Linked DNA regions of Homo sapiens: all the other regions are linked to region 4. The links are contacts of gene promoters, found by promoter capture Hi-C in human tissues and cell types (Jung and others, 2019). All regions are on one chromosome and are shown on one strand. Each heading gives the region's core, a stretch centred on a gene start or on the middle of the fragment in contact. The rest is flanking DNA. Distances are from core to core; before and after follow the strand shown.

Region 1 (3,662 bases), core at 1,058-3,557, 1.1 Mb before region 4:
GGGAGCATCCAGGCCAAGGGGTGAGGTGGGGACAGCCCTACATTAAGTTTTTATTTCAAGGTAGAAAATCTGTCCCCTTGATTGTTTGGGAAACTATAAAAAGACTAGGGCAGCTCAGGGTCTAAAATACAGCTTCAGGGAGTACAGAGTTAGAGTGCAGAAACTTCAATTCCATTTACTCTCTAGCAATTTACCTAATATCAAAACATACAGTTATGTTATGTTTACAAATATGCACGCACCTCTATTAATATGTGTTCATAAGTACATACACATGCACCATTACGTTTACACATACATGCATGTAACACCAACTGATGTAAAAATCATTGTTTTATGTACTCAGTTTTCCTTTGAGTTTACCCTCTTTTCTCTACTTTTTAAAATATTTATTTCTAATTTGGGGAGCTACTAACTGAGATTATTTTTCATCTCACTGAAAAACAGTTTTAGAATTTCCTGTAGAGCAGTTCTGCTGGTGGCAAATTCCATCGGGTTTTGTCTGAAAAGTAGCCATTTTCTCCTATTTTTTCTGTTTATTATATAGAAAGATAACTTATATAAAGTAAAATTCACAGGTCTTAATTATACAGTTTGATGGTTTTTACAAATGCAGATGCTCATGTAGCCAACAGTCCGATCCATTCTCACAACATCTCCATTACTGCAGAATGGAGACATTCTGTTCCAGTCAATGTAAATTATCCCATTACACCTACCAAATAGAACGTGTATGAGAGACACCTTTCTCCTGAGGACTTTTGCAAAGTGGGGTGGATCATGTGTCCCGCTCCCACTGAAAAGGGCTAAATGGAAAACTAAAGTCTGAAATAAAATAGGAGGCTGCCCTGACGAGGGGTCCCACTTTGCCCTTGGACAGAGAACAGGCCGTGGTCAAGGCCCTGGTCCGGGCAGAAGCCTCTGTCAGGACCCACTGGCATCTGGTCACAGACACGATGGACCTGGGCCTAGGCAGAAGGGGGTGCTGTTGGTCTGCTGCTGAGGGCTCTGTGGGTTTCTCAGCTGGGAAACCAAACACTTGAACTTGGTCTCCACGCAGGGTTCACTGGGGCCAGCAGCTGGGCTCTCTCTGCACCCTTGGAGAGCCTCAGGCCAGGCCCAGCCCAGGTAACCCCTCCCAGAAATGTCACCCCACCACTGGGACTGACACTCAGGCACACGGAGTGATTTGGTTGGGCAGAGGAAGAGGAGCACATTTGCATGAAGGGCCCCTCTCTCTCCTCTGGGACTACAGGGTGGGTAAGAAATACCTGCAACTGTCAGCCTCAGCAGAGCTCTGGGGAGTCTGCACCATGGCTTGGACCCCACTCCTCTTCCTCACCCTCCTCCTCCACTGCACAGGTCAGGATGGCCCTCAGCACCCTGACCTCCAGCTCACTGATACCACCTCCCAAACTTATGCCAGGAATGTCCTTCCCTCTTTTCTTGACTCCAGCCGGTAATGGGTGTCTGTGTTTTCAGGGTCTCTCTCCCAGCTTGTGCTGACTCAATCGCCCTCTGCCTCTGCCTCCCTGGGAGCCTCGGTCAAGCTCACCTGCACTCTGAGCAGTGGGCACAGCAGCTACGCCATCGCATGGCATCAGCAGCAGCCAGAGAAGGGCCCTCGGTACTTGATGAAGCTTAACAGTGATGGCAGCCACAGCAAGGGGGACGGGATCCCTGATCGCTTCTCAGGCTCCAGCTCTGGGGCTGAGCGCTACCTCACCATCTCCAGCCTCCAGTCTGAGGATGAGGCTGACTATTACTGTCAGACCTGGGGCACTGGCATTCACACAGTGACACAGGCAGATGAGGAAGTGGGACAGAAACCTCAGCCTGCTCAGGGTCTTGTTATATGACAAGTTTTAAATTTTCAAATATGTTTTATATGTACACACTCCACTTGGAAGCACCGTCTGGTTTAAAATGTTTCTACTCTCAATTTCTCATTCAAGTTTTCTGAAGTCTCAGGAAAACTAAAAACAGAAACAAAAATATCATGATGACTATGAAATATTACCTAATTTTCCAAATATGCTGAATTCAGTGCCTGTGGAGCTAACCATTTTCTCTTGACAGAAGAAAAATGAGCCTTAGAAATTGTTTCCAAATCCTGAAAGAGTCATCATTCCATGTACTCAGGACAGATTTAGAGAGTGCTGACCCTGCCCTTTGAAAGATGTTATTTGCCTCTTAGTGCCCAAATAAGGAAGGATAATTAGGAATCAGAAGCCTACCTAGGGCTCCCCTCTCTCCTCTCAAAATTGCACTTGGTGTCATATTGCCCTAGAATTTATGCCTGGTGCTGGCAAATATTTTTAAATTTATTTTTTAATCTTTTCCTTTTCTGCAATCAAATTTCTTGAGGGGCTGAGAAGAAGAAATAGGCCCAGAGAGAAGCAAGGCAGTCTGGGTGCAGGCTCTAGACAGCCCAGGGAGAAGAAAGAGGGAGCAGCTCCCTGTGTCCTGGAGGGAGCCCTGTCCCCATTGGGCTTCCTGCTCTGATGTCCCCTAGTGGAGGCTCCTCAGGGAGTCCAGCCTCCCAGAACTGCCCTATAAACCTCACAGTGAGCTAAGCAAGTATATCCAGGAAGGAGGGTCTGTGGAGATGTGAGACTAAGGTGTGTTATGGCCTAAACACTGCCCATCTCCATCCTTCTTGGGGATGACAAAGTGAACAGTGGAGGAGACAGGATACATGGGTGCATCTGGACCTCAAGCAGTAGGCTGTTCTGTGGTCTGTCCCTAAATCTTGTGCTGGAGACCCCATACGAGAGCCACTCCCTGACCCTGGGCTGGAGCCCTCTACCCCCTGCTCACAAGACCAGCAGCTGTTTCCTTATAGGCCCCCAGGGAGCCACAGAACAGCATCAACCAAGACCATCCTCTTCATGTGTCAGCTTTTCAGGGAGGGATCGAAGTCATGGCCCAGGAAAGGGCTTGGACAGCCCAGGGGAGGAGGCTGGTTGGTATGAAGGATGCCCTCCTCACCCTGAGCTGCTGGAGGGAGTACAAGGGACTTGGAGAGCCCAGGCTCAGTTGATGATCCTCAGGATGTAGAGCTATGTATGGGTCTCCACTGTGGTCTCTCCCCCGCCTTCTCCTTCACTGCACAGGTGGCTAGGGCTCAGTGTCAGGGCTGGTGATCAAAAGACCAAGGTTTATGCATGTGTCTCTGTCCACTGACCCACCTCTCACCCTGTGTCTGTCTTAATGTCCAGCGTCCTGAGCCCAGCCTGTGCTGACCCAGCCACCTGCAGTGCATGCATCTGTGGGGCAGGTGGGTACCAGCTCCTGCACTAGAAGCAGCAGCAATGTTGGGCACGGGCATGTGCTCTGGTACAAACATGCCTCCGAGAGACCCAGAGCTCCACATATATAAAAGCAGTCATTGACCCTTAGGGGCATAGGCCCAATGCTGAGGCTCCAGGTTGGAGAACATGGCCTCTCTGAGCATCTCTGGACTCCAGGCAGAGGAAAAGGCTGATTTTTATTCTCAGCTTGGGACACAAGCACCAAGGCTCAGGCAGTACTTCAGGCCAGTGGGGAAGTGGGAGAAAAAGCTGCTGCCCATCCAGCAATGGAGCTTCTCTGTGCAGCCCCCACTTCTTGGGCAAGTCAGCTGATTAACGTTGCTTTTCATTTGTTTAGTAAAAATTTAG
Region 2 (3,125 bases), core at 415-2,914, 1.1 Mb before region 4:
TTTTTTCATGTCTGTTGGCTGCATAAATGTCTTATTTTGAGAAGTGTTTGTTCATATCTTTTACCCACTTTTCAATGGGGTTGTTTGCTTTTTCTTGTAAATTTGTTTAAGTTCTTTGTAGATTCTGGATATTAGCCCTTTGTCAGGTGGGTAGATTGCAAAGATTTTCTCCCATTCTGTAGGTTGCCTGTTCACTCTGATAATAGCTTCTTTTGCTGTGCAGAAGCTCTTTAGTTTAATTAGATCCCACTTGTCAATTTTGGCTTTTGTTGCCATTGCTTTTGGTATTTTAGTCATGAAGTCTTTGCCCATGCCAATGTCCTGAATGGTATTGCCTAGGTTTTCTTCTAGGGTTTTTTATGGTGTTAGGTCTTTTTTTTTTTTTTTTCTTTGAGACAGAGTCTCGCTCTGTAGCCCAGGCTGGAGTACAGTGGCGTGATCTCGGCTCACTGCAAGCTCCGCCTCCCGGGTTCCTGCATTCTCTTGCCTCAGCCTCCCAAGTAGCTGGGACTACAGGCACCTGCCACTGCGCCCGGCTAATTTTTTTTTGTATTTTTAAATAGAGACGTGGTTTCACCGTGTTACCCAGGATGGTCTCGATCTCCTGACCTTGTGATCTGCCCGCCTCGGCCTCCCAAAGTGCTGGGATTACAGGCGTGAGCCACCGTGCCCGGCCATGGTGTTAGGTCTTCATTCAAGTCTTTAATCCATCTTGAGTTAATTTTTGTATACTGTGTAAGGAAGACATCCAGTTTCAGCTTTCTACATATGGCTAGCCAGTTTTCCCAGCACCATTTATTAAAGGGGGAATCCTTTCCTCATTGCTTTTTTTAGTCAGGTTTGTCAAAAATCAGATGATTGTAGATGCGTGGTGTTATTTCTGAGGCCTCTGTTCTGTTCCATTCGTCTATATATATGTTTTGGTACCAGTACCATGCTGTTTTGGTTACTGTAGACTTGTAGTATAGTTTGAAGTCAGGTAGCATGATGCCTCCAGCTTTGTTCTTTTTGCTTAGGATTGTCTTGGCTATGCAGGCTCTTTTTAGGTTCCATATGAACTTTAAAGTAGTTTTTTCCAATTCTGTGAAGAAAGTCAGTGGTAGCTTGATGGGGATAGCATTGAATCTATAAATTACCTTGGGCAGTATGGCCATTTTCATGATATTGGTTATTCTTATCTATGAGCATGGAATGTTCTTCCATTTGTTTGTGTCCCCTTTTATTTCATCGAGCAGTGGTTTGTAGTTCTCCTTGAAGAGGTCCTTCACATTCCTTGTAAGTTGGATTCCTAGGTATTTTATTCTCTTTGTATTAATTGTGAGTGGGAGTTCACTCATGATTTGGCTCTCTGTTAGTCTACTATTGGTGTATAGGAATGCTTGTGATTTTTGCACATTGATTTTGTATCCTGTGACCTTACTGAAGTTGCTAATTAGCTTATGGAGATTTTGGGCTGAGATGATGGGGTTTTCCAAATATACAATCTTGTCATCTGCAAACGGAGACAATTTGACTTCGTCTTTTCCCAGTTGAATACCCTTTATTTCTTTCTCTTGCCTGATTGCTCTAGCCAGAACTTCCAACACTGTGTTGAATAGGAGAGGGCATCCTTGTCTTGTGCTGGTTTTCAAACAGAATGCTTCCAGTTTTTGCCCATTCAGTATGATATTGGCTGTGGGTTTGTCATAAATAGCTCTTATTATTTTGAGATATATTCCATCAATACCTAGTTTATTGAGAGTTTTTAGCATGAAGGGCTGTTGAATTTTGTCGAAGGCCTTTTCTGCATCTATTGAGGTAATCATGTGGTTTTTGTCGCTGGTTCTGTTTATGTGATGGATTACATTTATTGATTTGCATATGTTGAACCAGCCTTGCATCCTAGGGATGAAGCTGACTTGATCGTGGTGGATAACCTTTTTGATGTGCTGTTGGATTTGGTTTGCCAGTATTTTATTGAGGATTTTCGCATCAATGTTCATCAGGGATATTGGCCTAAAATTCTCTTTTTTTGTTGTGTCTCTACCAGGCTTTGGTATCAAGATGATGCTAGCCTCCTAAAATGAGTTAGGGAGGATTCCCTCTTTTTCTATTGATTGAAATAGTTTTAGAAGGAATGGTACCAGCTCCTCTTTGTACCTCTGGTAGAATTCGGCTGTGAGTCTGTCTGGTCCTGGACTTTTTTTGGTTGGTAGGCTATCAATTATTGCCTCAATTTCAGAACCTGTTATTGGTCTATTAAGAGATTCAGCCTCTTCCTGGTTTAGTCTTGGGAGGGTGTATGTGTACAGGAATTTATCCATTTCTTCTAGATTTTCTAGTTTTCTTGTGTAGAGGTTCTTATAGTATTCTGATGGCAGTTTGTATTTCTGTGGGATGGGTGGTGATATCTCCTTTATCATTTTTTGTTGTGTCTATTTGATTCTTCTCTCTTTTCTTCTTTATTAGTGTTGCTAGCGGTTTATCAATTTTGTTGATCTTTTCAAAAAACCAGCTCCTGGATTCATTGATTTTTTGAAGGGTTTTTTGTGTCTCTATCTCCTTCAGTTCTGCTCTGATCTTAGTTATGTCTTGCCTTCTACTAGCTTTTGAATGTGTTTGCTCTTGCTTCTCTAATTCTTTTAATTGTGATGTTAGGGTGTCGATTTGAGATCTTTCCTGCTTTCTCTTGTTGGCATTTAGTGCTATAAATTTCCCTCTACACACTGCTTTAAACGTGTCCCAGAGATTCTAGTACGTTGTGTCTTTGTTCTCATTGGTTTCAAATAACGTCTTTATTTCTGCCTTCATTTCGTTATGTACCCAGTAGTCATTCAGGAGCAGGTTTTTCAGTTTCCATTAGTTGAGTGGTTTTGAGTGAGTTTCTTAATCCTGAGTTCTAGTTTGATTGCACTGTGGTCCGAGAGACAGTTTTTTGTGATTTCTTTTCTTTTACATTTGCTGAGGAGTGTTTTACTACCAATTATGTGGTCAATTTTAGAATAAGTGCGATGTGGTGCTGAGAAGAATGCATATTCTGTTGATTTGGGGTGTAGAGTTCTGTAGGTGTCTATTAGGTCTGCATGGTCCAGAGCTGAGCTCAAGTCCTGGATATCCTTGTTAACCTTCTGTCTCATTGATCTGTC
Region 3 (3,318 bases), core at 772-3,271, 1.1 Mb before region 4:
ATCCTAACAAGTAGTAAGCTGAACAAACTGAAAAATCAGTTCTTCTTAGATCCGCAAGAGAAGTGAGGCCACAGGGCAAACTGTTTCCCCCCAGATTGAAGATACAGATGGGCAGATACAGAGAATTACAATTTACCAGAGCAGAAACCCATGAGCAGGAACCTCCACAGGAATCAGTGCTGGGTAGAGAAAACTGAATTGTAATCGATGAATTACTGGAGGCTCAGTGTAGATATATCTGAGAGATAACTCCAGGGGGACCCAGCTATTGGGTGGGCCTCACTTTTCTGAGTTTTACTTCCTGAAGCTCTACCAGTTCTCACAGTAAATATCAGAGAGAACTCTCAGGCTTTGGTAGAGAGAGGAAAAATGATTTTGAAACATTCCAGATAATTCTGTTTTTTTTTCTTTTTTTTTTGAGACGGCGTCTTGCTCGGTTGCCCAGGCTGGAGTGCAGTGGCACGATCTGGGCTCACTACAAGCCCCGCCTCCCGAGTTCACACCATTCTCCTGCCTCAGCCTCCTGAGCAGCTGGGACTACAGGCGCCCGCCACCATGCCTGGCTATTTCTCTTTTTTTTTGTATTTTTAGTAGAGACAGGGTTTCACCATGTTAGCCAGGATGGTCTCGATCTCCTGACCTCGTGATCCGCCTGCCTTGGCCTCCCAGAGTGTTGGGATTACAGGCGTGAGCCACCGCGCCCGGCCAATTCTGTTCTTTTTAAATTATTTTATTATTATTATTATTATTTTGTAGAGACAGGGTTTTGCCATGTTTCCCAGGCTGGTCTTGAATTCCTGATCTCAAGCAGTCCTCCTGCCTCAGCCTCCCAGAGTGTTAGGATTACAGGCATGAGCCATTGCACCTGGCCAGTTCTGTTCTTTTTTTTAATTATTTTTATTATTTTTTAAAAATTATTATTATTATACTTTAAGTTTTAGGGTACACGTGCAAGAGAGACTACAGTAAGTCCTCAGTGTCATCACTAGGTTCTTGGAAACTGCAACTCTAAGCAAAATGACATACATATGGCCATGAATAATGTCCATTTGTTCAATGTCATTTCCTTACAATGGTGATGAGGAAAAAAAAGTTGGTTTTGCTTAAAGTCATAGTCAATAGTTTCCAAGAACCTATTGATGTTAAGTGAGGACTTACTGTATTTAACCAGAACCTAACCTGTTAGGGTTTTATCAGAGCCTAATGACCTGGAAGAAGAGAAAACCTCAGCTCCAGCCAGCTGTAGCCATCCTTTCCCACCTAACTGGGGAGAAGAACTGGGAAGCACCTGTGAAGTTCACAGTCCAGAGGCACAAGCTCACTAAAAGATCAAGACCTAGTCATGAAAATACTGACTACTTTCCTCCCCTCACACCTTACCATATTACTAAAAGCCTATTTATTACAGTTCTTTTTATCCTATACGTCATGTTGGGCTATCAAGAAAAAATTACAGGCTGGATGCAGTGGTTCACACCTGTAAATCCCAGCACTTGGGAGGCTGAGGCGGGTGGATCACTGAGGCCAGGGGTTCAAGATCAGCCTGGCTAACATGGCAAAACCCGTCTCTACTAAAAATACAAAAAATTAGCCGGGCATGGTGGCGCACGCCTGTAATCCCAGCTACTCGGGAGGCTGAGGTAGGAGAATAGCTTGAACTCAGGAGGCAGAGGTTGCAGTGAACTGAGATTGTGCCACTGCATTCCAGCCTGGGTAATACAGTGAGACTGTGTCTCAAAAAAAACCAAACCAAAACAAACAAAACCCCCCGAAATATATAAGAACTCATACAACTCAACAGCAAAAACAGAACAATTAAGAAATGGATAGGCCTGGTGCAGTGGCTCACGCCTGTAATCCCAGCACATTGGGAGGCCAAGGCAGGTGGATCACAAAGTCAGGAGTTCGAGACCAGCCTGGGCCAACATGGTGAAACCCCGTCCCTACTAAAAATACAAAAATTAGCTGGGCATGGTGGCGGGTGCCTGTAGTTCCAGCTACTCGGGAGGCTGAGGCAGGAGAATTGCTTGAACCTGGGAGGCGGAGGTTGTAGTGAGCTGAGATCGCACCGTTGCACTGCAGCCTGGGCAACAAGAGCAAAACTCCATCTCAAAAAAAAAAAAAAAGTATAAAGGACCTAAATAGACATTTTTCAAAAGAAGATACGTAAATAGTCCACAGATACATGAAAATATGCTCAACATCATTAATCATCAGAGAAATACAAATTAAAGCCACAGTGAAATGTCACCTCATACCTGTTAGGATGGCTATTATAAAAAAGTCAAAAGATAACAAGTGTTGGTGAGAACATGGAGAAAAGGGAACCCTTGTACATTATTACTGGGAATATAAATTCATATAGCTTTTATGAAAAAACAGTATGAAGATTCCTCAAAAAATTAAAAGTAGAAGTACCATATGATCCAGCAATCATATTTTTGGGTACGTGTCCACAGGAATAAAATCACTGTCAAGAAGAGGTATCTTCACTCCCATGTTCACTGCAGTGTAATTTATTGCAGTATTGTTTACAATAGCCAAGAAACGGAAACAACCTAAGTGTTCATTGACAGACGAATGGATAAAGAACATGTGGTATATATACACAATGGAATATTATTCAGCCCTAAAGAAGAGGAGAAAAATTTGGACCCAAAGAGAGAGGGATGACAAGCATGTGACGATGGAGGCAAAGGTTGGAGTTACATTGCCACAAGCCAAGGAATGTCTGCAGAGACCCAAAGGGTGTAATAGGCAAGGAAAGATCCTTTGCTAGAGATTTCAAAGGATGTATGGTTCTTTAACACCTAATTTCACATTTCTAGCCTCTAGGACTCTGAGAACAAATTTTGGTTTTAAGCCACTCAGTTGGGTACTTCTCTATGGCATCACTAGGACATGAATACACTACCCAAAGTGACTTACAGATTCAATGCAATCCCTATCAAAATCCCCATAGTGTGGCTGGGTGTGGTGGCTCACGCCGATAATCCCAGTATTTTGGGAGGCTGAGGCAGGCGATCACCTTAGGTCAGGAGTTTGAGACCAGTCTGGCTAACATGGCAAAACCTTGTCTCTACCAAAAATACAAAAATTAGCTGGGAGTGGTGGTGCACACCTGTAATCCCAGCTACTTGGGAGGCTGAGGCAGGAGAATCGCTTGAACCCGGGAGACAGAGACTACAGTGAGCCAAGATTGCGCCATGGCACTCCAGCCTGGGCAACACAGCGAGACTTCATCTTAAAAAAAAAAAAATCTCTACGGTGTTAGGCAAAAGATGGAAAAACTCATCCTAAAATTGATATGTAATTTCA
Region 4 (3,627 bases), core at 175-2,674:
ACTGCACTCCAGCCTGGGCGACAGAGTGAGACTCCATCTCAAAAAAAAAAAAAAAAAAAAAAAAAAAACAGCTAAAGGAGGAGTTCAGGGTGATCTCTAGCTCCTGCCAAATCCCCAAATCCAAATTAGTAAGTGACCCCACAGCTTAATCTTCCCTTCTCCTAAATCCCATTGGCACACTCCCTTCCCCTAATTCTCTATTTACTTCTCTGCTTCCCGCAGTGGACTCCAATTTCCCTGAGGGTGGACACCATGTCCGTTCTCTTTCCTTGTCTCCCCAGTGCTAGGCATATACCAGGAAGCTTTCAGTACATGTAGGACAAATGAATAGTTAATGGACTTGAATCAAGCTTTACAGTATAAAAGCACTTTCACCATCTCAGGTGATCCATTGAAATAGATAGTTGCGTTTATTTTATAGTTGAGTAAACTGAGGTGCGGAAGGTGGAACAACTCACCTAAGTTCACCCCCTAAGCCTCAACCTTAGCAGTGAAACTCACTAAAAGACATTAAACAGAGCCAGGTGTGGTGGCCCTTGCCTGTAGTCCCAAGGACTGGGGAGGCTGAGGCGGGAGGATTCCTTGAGCCTAGGAGTTCGAGTCCAGCCTGGACAACATAGCAAGACTCCATCTCTTTAAAAAAAAAAAAAAAAGACATCAAACACCAGCCTCCAGCACACTTAGCTTTGAATTGAAGATGACTGAGTTAGATCTGTGTACCAAGGCTTCCATATTGTGATGCAGAAAAGTTAAGGAGCTGAATTAAGTAGGTTCTCAAACTGAACCCCGGACTTCGAAGCTGGTTCCACGGTTTTATAAGGGCCACAAGAGGCCATCTAGCCCAAAACAGCTAACTTTCCAAACCGAAACTAGTTCAGAGGAAATCACTGACTCAGGTCAGCTTTTTATTAAGGAAATTAATTTTGTACCGTGAGCTCTAGAAGCCAGGCATATGATATTCAGACAGCACTGGATTCAGAACTATGCAGACTAAGGTCAGTAGATGGTAGGCAGGTCTATCTTCTGCAGCTGCAGGGTGCTTGACTCCAATTAAACATCAATACCACATCAGGAGCTCTTATGCCATAACCGCCCAACCTCTCCCAGCCGAGCTGATCACCAGAACCTGCGCGAATCTCTCCACGGTCAGCCCCACCCAGGGCTCAGGCTCCGCCCCCGGGCCTCCATAGCCCCGCCCACCGCCCACCCATCCAGCACCGCCCTTGTTGTCATGGTGATCTCCGGCTCTCCAGGGTGTCCAGGAGTCTCTCTGCTGCCAGCCCCGCCCAGACTCCAGGCAGGTTCTCGTTGCTATGGTGATCGCCGGTGCAAGCTGGATGCTTGGACGCGCCGCTGCCAGTCCAACGCAGACCCCGCCCACGACGTCGACGATTCGTGTAGCCCGCAGGTCCCGCGTGGCTCTCGTTGCCATGGTGATCGCCGCCGCTGGCTCAGGCGGACCAGGCCGCGCGGAGCCCCAGCTTTCACAGCCATCGCTGGTGAGTCAGCTCGCCCACTCTGTCCGACCCTCCCGGTCACCCAACCCCGTGCTGGCACATCCCGAGGCCAGGGCCGCGAGGGCACAGCGTCCGCGCCCACTTCCCGCCCCTATAACTTGAAAGCGGCCTGCGGCCCCGGGGCGTCCTCATTTCCGGAGCGCAAACTCTGGGCCAGGCCCGCGCTGGTTGTGGAGGAGAGCCAGGTCAGATGCGGGAAGACAACCGGACTCCGCCAGGACCACCCCAGCCCAGCCTGGAGAGGAGTCCGGACAGAAAAAGGAGACAGAGGGGCTGTTGAGGAGGCTCGAGGAGTCAGAGGCCTGGTGAAGTGAGGGTTTTCAGGGAAAAGGCCTAGTTGGCTGAAAGTTAAGGCCCCCAGGCCCACCTAGAGCCTTCGTCCTTTGCAGACTGGGAGCAGGAGACCCCTCCCCACTCTACTTCCACTGCCTGAGCTGTGCCATGCCTCACAGCCCAGTAAGGTAAGCTCAGAGGGGAGCTCCTCCTTGGTAGACACCTGTCAAGGGGAGACCCAGGTCTTCTGACTCCCAGGCAGGGTGGGGCAGGCCTGGTTCCCCCATACCATGCTGCCTGCTGTATGCAGATTGAGAGAAATGGCCTCTGCCCCATATTCCTGACAGAGAGGGAAGCCTGGATCTGGTTTTATTTATAATTCTTGAGACAAGGTCTTACTCTATCACCCAGGCTGGAGTGCAGTGGCACCTTCACGGTTCACTGCACCCTTGACCTCCCAGGCTCAAGCATTCCTCCCACCTTCCTCCCAAGTAGCTGGGACTGCAGGCACAGGCCACCATGCCCTGCTAATTTTTTTGGTTTTTTTTTGTAGAGACTGAGGTTTCACTTTGTTGCCCAGGCTGGTCTCAACCTCCTGGGCCCAAGTGATCCTCCCACCTTGGCCTCCCAAAGTGCTGGGATTACAGGCATGAGCCACTGCACCCAGCCTGGATCTGATGAAAAGTTAGGTGGAAACTCATGGGTGAATCCCCAGGTATTTGCACAGCTCCTTAACTGTCTTTCTCCTGGTTGGGTCCACAGGACTGTGGAAGAATGAGGTCCTCCCTGACACCTTTGGGGCCCCCTGTGAGCCGCGACCGTGTCATCGCCAGCTTCCCTAAGGTAGAGAGTCATTACGTCTGCAGTGCTCTCCTGGCCCTGCAGCCACATCAGCTCTCCCCACTCTACACTCATGCCTAGAAGTAAAGCAGGTGAATCAAGGAGGTCTGTCCATTGTCAGATTTACCTTGAGGAGCTGGGAGACTGGTCACTGACTGCCCAAGGTGGGACCGCAAGTTAATGGTGACACTGGGCAGCAGTGTGGCCTGGAGGTTATAAGGGCTGGGATTTTGCAGCCAGACAGTCCTTGATGTGAATCCTTCATTCTGATTCTGTCATTAAGCTGTGTGGCTGTGGGCAAATTACTCAACCTCTCAGAGCCACTGTTACATGAAGGTAATTCCTCTCATATTGGGTGCCTGGCTCATGGTATGCAGGAGCTCCCCTGCAGTCATAGTTGCTGTTGTTCTCATCATCGTTGTTGTTATCAAAACAGCATTCCAGTTCCATGACCCCAAATCCAGGGCTCTCTCCTCTTGCCATTCCGCCTCTATGAGCTTGAAAACTCACAGCTCTCTTGTGTCTGTATTAAAATCCAATATTAATTGCAGCAGGGAATACAAATTGAGTACAACCTCCATAGGGGGCAGTGGACAATATTTACCAATATAGAAGATGACCCTGCCCTCTAAGATCCAGCCATTCTGTTTCTTTTTTCTTTTTTTTTTAGAGACAGGATCTTGCTCTGTCACCCAGGCTGGAGTGCAATGGTGCCATCATAATTCACTCCTCTAACTCCTGGGCTGAAGCAATCCTTCTGCCTCAGCCTCCCGGAGTAGCTAGGACCACAGGCATGTGCTACCATGCCTGGCTAATTTTTAATTTTTTTTAATAGAGATGAAGTCTTGCTATGTTGCCCAGGCTGGTCTTGAACCCCTGGCCTCAAGCAATCCTCCCACCCGGGCCTCTCAAAGCACTGGGATTATAGGTGTGGACCACCACAACTGGCCTTGCTATTCTATTTCTAGGAATTTACTTGGCAGATATTCTGGCATGG

Evidence for each region. The method cuts DNA at HindIII sites, captures the fragments that hold promoters and counts their contacts. A contact is called where the count stands out against the background at its distance.
Region 1: a contact is called between a fragment that was not itself captured here and the fragment with the promoter of RAB36 in region 4, in 1 of the 25 tissues and cell types used here (lymphoblastoid cells).
Region 2: a fragment that was not itself captured here is called in contact with the fragment with the promoter of RAB36 in region 4 in 1 of the 25 tissues and cell types used here (hippocampus).
Region 3: a contact is called between a fragment that was not itself captured here and the fragment with the promoter of RAB36 in region 4, in 2 of the 25 tissues and cell types used here (hippocampus and lymphoblastoid cells).

The regions. Positions count from the first base shown.
Region 1 is chr22:22,029,681-22,033,342 of GRCh38, forward strand. It overlaps the pseudogene PRAMENP, IGL, IGLV4-69 and the pseudogene IGLVI-68. Among named protein-coding and RNA genes, the nearest start is that of TOP3B, 49 kb to the left of the region's middle. RefSeq lists enhancers at 517-1,297, 675-934, 1,298-2,077, 1,375-1,454, 1,595-1,654 and a silencer at 1,725-1,844. The HindIII fragment of the contact is 9,029 bases long and covers 1-3,662 here.
Region 2 is chr22:22,051,727-22,054,851 of GRCh38, forward strand. It overlaps IGL. Among named protein-coding and RNA genes, the nearest start is that of TOP3B, 71 kb to the left of the region's middle. The HindIII fragment of the contact is 5,123 bases long and covers 1-3,125 here.
Region 3 is chr22:22,011,133-22,014,450 of GRCh38, forward strand. It overlaps the pseudogene PRAMENP. Among named protein-coding and RNA genes, the nearest start is that of TOP3B, 30 kb to the left of the region's middle. The HindIII fragment of the contact is 6,044 bases long and covers 1-3,318 here.
Region 4 is chr22:23,144,053-23,147,679 of GRCh38, forward strand. It overlaps RAB36 (RAB36, member RAS oncogene family), which reads left to right and starts at 1,425. Exons shown (of 11, transcript NM_004914.5): 1 at 1,425-1,499; 2 at 2,553-2,633. The coding sequence starts at 2,565. It also overlaps a transcript of RSPH14 not described here. RefSeq lists a silencer at 1,178-1,247. The HindIII fragment of the contact is 15,551 bases long and covers 1-3,627 here.